2 separate regions of the Homo sapiens genome follow, and region 1 is linked to region 2. Evidence: promoter capture Hi-C in human tissues and cell types (Jung and others, 2019). All regions are on one chromosome and are shown on one strand. The core of a region is centred on a gene start or on the middle of the fragment in contact, and the rest is flanking DNA. Distances in the headings are between cores, read along the strand shown.

Evidence for each region. Contacts are between HindIII fragments. The study calls those that stand out against the background at their distance.
Region 1: a fragment that was not itself captured here is called in contact with the fragment with the promoter of RTN1 in region 2 in 3 of the 25 tissues and cell types used here (H1 embryonic stem cells, liver and mesendoderm cells).

Annotation. Positions count from the first base shown.
Region 1 is chr14:59,736,060-59,738,759 of GRCh38, reverse strand. The region is part of intron 2 of RTN1 (reticulon 1); the gene reads left to right. Among named protein-coding and RNA genes, the nearest start is that of MIR5586, 90 kb to the right of the region's middle. The HindIII fragment of the contact is 6,932 bases long and covers 1-2,700 here.
Region 2 is chr14:59,869,334-59,872,033 of GRCh38, reverse strand. RTN1 (reticulon 1) reads left to right here and starts at 1,258. Exons shown (of 9, transcript NM_021136.3): 1 at 1,258-1,644. The coding sequence starts at 1,404. RefSeq lists a silencer at 1,250-1,349. The HindIII fragment of the contact is 4,177 bases long and covers 92-2,700 here.

The sequences.
Region 1 (2,700 bases), core at 122-2,621, 130 kb after region 2:
GAGCATTTGGGTTGGCTCCATGTCTTCGCTATTGTAAATAGTGCTGCAATAAACATACATGTGCCTGTATCTTTATGATAGGATGATTCCTATTCCTTTGGGTATATACCCAGTAATGGGATTGCTGGGTCAAATTGTATTTCTGCCTCTAGGTCTTTGAGGAATTGCCACACTGTTTTCCACAATGGTTGAACTAATTTACACTTCCACTAACAATGTAAAAGCATTCCTTTTTCTCCACAACCTTGCCAGCATTTGTTGTTTTTTGACTTTTTGGTAATAGCCATTCTGATTTTGTAAGATTGTACCTCATTATAGTTTTGATTTATATTTATCTAATTATAAGTGCTGTTGAGCTTTTATTCATGTTTGTTGTCTGCATGTATATCTTCTTTTGAGAAGTGTCTTTTCATGTCCTTTGCCCAATTTTTAATGAGGTTGTTTATTTTTTTTCTTGTAAATTGTTTAAGTTCTTTGTAGATGCTGGATATTAGACCTTTGTCAGATGCATAGATTGCAAATATTTTCTCCCATTCTGTTCTGTTCACTCTGATGATAGTTTCTTTTGCTGTGCAGAAGCTTTTAGTTAATTAGATCCCATTTGTCAGTTTGAGCTTTTGTTGCAATTGCTGTTGGTGTCTTTGTAATGAAATCTTTGCCCATGCCTATGTCCTGAATGGTATTGCCTAGATTTTCTTCTAGGGTTTTTATAGTTTTGGGTTTTACATTTAAGTCTTTAATCCATCTTTAGTTGATTTTTGTACATGTGTAAGGAAGGGGTCCAGTTTCCATTTTCTGTATATTGCTAGCCAGTTATCCCAGCACCATTTATTACATAGGGAATTCTTTCCCCATTGCTTGTTTTTGTAAGGTTAGTCAAAGATCAGATGGTTGTAGGTATGTGGTCTTATTACTGGTTTCTTTATGCTGGTCCATTGGTCTATGTGTCTGTTCTTGTACCAGTACCATACTGTTCTGGTTACTGTAGCCTTGTAGTGTAGTTTGAAGTCAAGTAGCATAATGCCTCCAGCTTTGTTCTTTGTCTTAGGATTGTCTTGGCTATTCTGGCTCTCTTTTGGTTCCAAATGAATTTTAAAATAGTTTTTTCTAATTCTGTGAGGAATGTCAATGGTAGTTTAATGGGAATAATGTTGAATCTATAAGTTGTTTTGGGGAGTATGGCCATTTTCATGATATTGATTCTTCATATCCATGAGCATGGAATGTTTTTCCATTTCTTTGTGTCATCTCTGATTTCTTTGGGCAGTTGTTTGTAGTTCCCCTTGAAGAGGTCCTTCACATCCCTTGTTAGCTGTATTCCTAGGTATTTTATTTTTGTGGCAATTGTGAGTGGGAATTCATTCATGATTTGGCTCTCTGCTTGCCTGTTGTTGCTGTATAGGAATGCTAGCAATTTTCACACATTGATTTTATATCCTGAGACTTTGCTGAAGTTGCTTATCAGCTTAAGAAGCTATTGGACTGAGAAAATGGGATTTTCTAGATATAGGATCATGTCATCTGCAAACAAAGATAGTTAGATTTCCTCGCTTCCTATCTGAAAACAATTTATTTCTTTCTCTTGCCTGATTGCCCTGGCCAGAACTTCCAATACTGTGTTGAATAGGAGTGGTGAGAGAGGGCATCCTTGTCTTGTGCTGCTTTTTAATAGGAATGCTTCCAGCTTTTGCCTATTTAGTATGATATTGGCAGTGGGTTTGTCATATATGGCTCATATTATTTTGAGGTATGTTCCTTCAAAACCCAGTTTATTGACAGTTTTTAATATGAAGGAATGTTGAATTTTATTGAAGACCTTTTCTGCATCTATTGAGATAATCATGTGGTTTTGTCTTTAGATCTGCTTATGTGATTAATCACATGTTTTGATTTGCATATGTTGAACCAAAGTTGTAAACCTACTTGATTGTGGTGGATAAACTTTTTGATGTGCTGCTGGATTCAGTTTGCCAGTATTTTATTGAGGATTATTGCATCAGTGTTCATCAACAATATTGGCCTGAAGTTTTATTTTTTTGTTGTATCTTTTCCAGGTTTTGGTATCAGGATGATGCTGGCCTCATAGAATGAGTTAGGGAGGAGTCCCTCCTTTTCAATTTTTCTGGAATAGTTTCAATAGAAATGGTACCAGCTCTTCTTTATACCTCTGGTAGAATTCAGCTGTAAATGTCCCTGGTCCTGGGCTTTTGTTTGGTTGGTAGGCTATTTATTGTTGTCTCAATTTCAGAACTTGTTATTGGTCTATTTAGGGATTCAGTTTCTTCCTGGTTGAGTCTTTGCAGGGTGTATGTCTCCAGGAATTTATCCATTTCTTCTAGATTTTCTAGTTTATATGCATAGAGGTGTTTATAGTATTCTCTGATCATTGTTTGTATTTCTGTGGGGTCAGTGGTGATATCTCCCTTATCATTTCTGATTGTGTTTATTTGATTCTTCTCTTTTCTTCTGTATTAGTCTAGCTAATGGTTGATTTTTAAAATTATTTTTTAAAAAAACAGCTCCTAGATTTGTTTATTTTTAAAGGGTTTTTCATGTCTCTGTCTCCTTCAGTTCATCTTTGTTCTTGTCTTCTGCTAGCTTTGGGGTTTGTTTGCTCTTGGTTCTCTAGTTCTTTTAGTTGTGATGTTAGGTTGTTAACTTAAGATCTTTCTAGCTTTTTAATGTGGGCATTTAATGCTA
Region 2 (2,700 bases), core at 9-2,508:
GCCATATTTATTGTTTAGTGAATGATTTTTCTCTAATTTATTGTCATCTTTTGAACATTAGTGCACTAGCAGAACAAAAGATTAGGCAGACTCTGGGCTTTTTCATTTTAGCATTATTGAGGAGCACCTGAATGGTCCTGAAGTTGGCCTTTGAATATACCAATGGACAGGTATGAAATCCTCAAGATGCGCATGGTGGCCAAGAGTCCCACAGTCTCACAGTGTGTGCGGTACCGTCTGCGCCCACCTTTCCTAGAGAAGAAACAGCAGAAAAACCTATTCCTTCACCCTGTGTGTTGTGGTGAATCTTAGTTTTTAAAGGCACATTATTTTATTATATAAACAACTTGGGAACCAATAAAACACAAGACATTTGAAAAGATGGGTCTTCGTATGGGCACAACATATGATAAGGCAAGTCACTTTCCTCCTCTGAGTTTGGGTTTATTTGCTGACTATCTTCCATTTTATCACAGTGAACTGTAAAGAAAAAGATGCAAGCTTCATGGAATGTCCAAATTCTGAAATACAACGGACTGCACAGACAGCTTATGATTAGGATGGCCTTGGCTCAGTGTTTCTGAAAGCAAATGTACAGCTTTTGTCCTTGCCTATTGACACCCTGTTTGCCCTCAGGGCTGGTCAGGGTGAGATCTGTTAAGCTTTTTTTGGAGGCTGTCCTGATAACTCATTTCTTTACTCCACTATTTTCAGGCCCATTCTGGAAACGCAGGATTTAACCGCGGGGTTGCAGCTTCCCTGGTCTCCATCTGCCATCAGAACCCATCTCCACCCCTTCCCCGTTCAGACCTGTGTCCCCTCCACAACTCATACTGGTCACTCTCAGAACTGTGGCCCTGAGTTCTCTAGCTTTCCCTCTTTGCCTCGGGACCCAGGACACCAGTCGGGGCTTAACTTTCTCAGTTGGGAAGGCGACGCTGCTGGTGGCTGCTGCTACTTGCTGGTTCTTCCTTTTTTTTCCTCCCCAAACGAGAGGAAGATTCGAGTGGATTTGGCACATCCCCTAACCGGGGCCTGCCATTTGCAGGTTGGGGGCTGACGTGCCCAGGAGGACCCGGACCAAGCAGGCCATTTTCACCTGCGTAATAACAGGATTGGGAATAGCGAAGCAGCGGCGGCAGCAGCGAGTGGAGTAGGAGGAGGAGCGCAGGCAGCGGCCGCGGCGGGGCCGGAGGAAGAGGAGGGGGGAGAAGGAGGAGCTGAAGCGGGAAGAGCGGCAGGCAGCGGCTCGGCGGAGTTGCAGCAGAGGCGGCGGCGACGCTGAGACACCGCAGCTTCCCTGAGCGCCGAGTCCCTCCGGGGACAGCAGCAGGGAGCGCCCGCGCAGCCACCGAGCCTCTGCCCAGCCAAGCCGCCGTCGCCGCGCCGGGGGACCGCCAGCCATGGCCGCGCCGGGGGATCCGCAGGACGAGCTGCTGCCGCTGGCCGGCCCCGGGTCCCAGTGGCTCAGGCACCGGGGGGAGGGGGAGAACGAAGCGGTGACGCCGAAAGGGGCCACGCCGGCGCCGCAGGCTGGGGAGCCCAGCCCGGGGTTGGGCGCCAGGGCCCGGGAAGCGGCGTCGCGGGAAGCCGGCTCGGGCCCCGCCCGGCAGTCGCCCGTTGCCATGGAAACTGCATCCACAGGTAAGGCGGGCGCCGCTGCCCCTCAAATGGCGTCGGGGACCAGGGCCCCCCAGTCAGTCCCCTTCTGCGCGGCTCTCCTGGGCACCTGCCTCGCGCTTTCTGCCTTGAGCGCCGACCCCACCCCCGCGTCGCCACGGGCGACTGGGAATATTCGCGGGCTGGTAGAAAACAACAATTTTATTTTTCCCAAAGGCTCAGAAAAAGTCAAGATGCTTTTGATCCTTTTATTTCATTATCATGATTATTTCCGCTTTAAAAATTGTTCTCATAGGCAAACAGCAGCATTCTGGCTGCTGGCGAGTCTGGGTACAAGTTTCTCCCTCCTGCCAGGAGGCTCCGAGCTGTAGGGCCCGTTTGACAGGTTGTGGGGATTTTGGGGGGCGTGTTTGCGCGCAGTGTGCGCGCCGGCTACAGGAGATGCTGACAACCGAGCGGCGGGCAGGCCCGCGGCCCCTGGACCCGGCTCTGTCCAGGGCAGAGATGTGGCTGTAACTGCCCCTTACCCTTGCCCTCCACGAATCGCCACCACACCTTACTCCCCCCACATCCCTCCGCCTTTTCTCCCGCAGAAAACAAATCCCAGGGAGTTTGTCCCTAATTCGGGAGGCACAGCTTTGCAAGAGGGTTGGGTGCTGTGGCTGCCCCCGCCCAAAACCTGTATTTCGCCGCTGCCCGGATGGCCCCACCTTGCAGGGAGCATTGAAACTTCAAGTCCTAAGTGCGGCGGGCCTGGCTGTGGGTTGGAGGGCTTGGGTGGTGGTGAGTGGACGTGGTACAGTTTACCAGCAGTCTAAGCGCCCCCCCCCCCCCACCCCGGAAATTGCCCTGGGTTTGGCCATTCTTCGCCTGACGCCCTATTCAAAGTCTGAGCGCGCCAGTGTCCAGCGGGAGCCCAGGCCCCTGGCGCATCCTGGTCAAAGGATCCAGGAAGCGCGCTTTGAGGCTGCCGGCCTGGTTAACGCTGTTTCCAGGGAGAGGAAAGGGGATGCTGTGTGGTGCTCTTTCCTGAGAAAGCTTTGCTATGGTGGAGTGGGAGTTGTGTAGTTTTGGCAATGT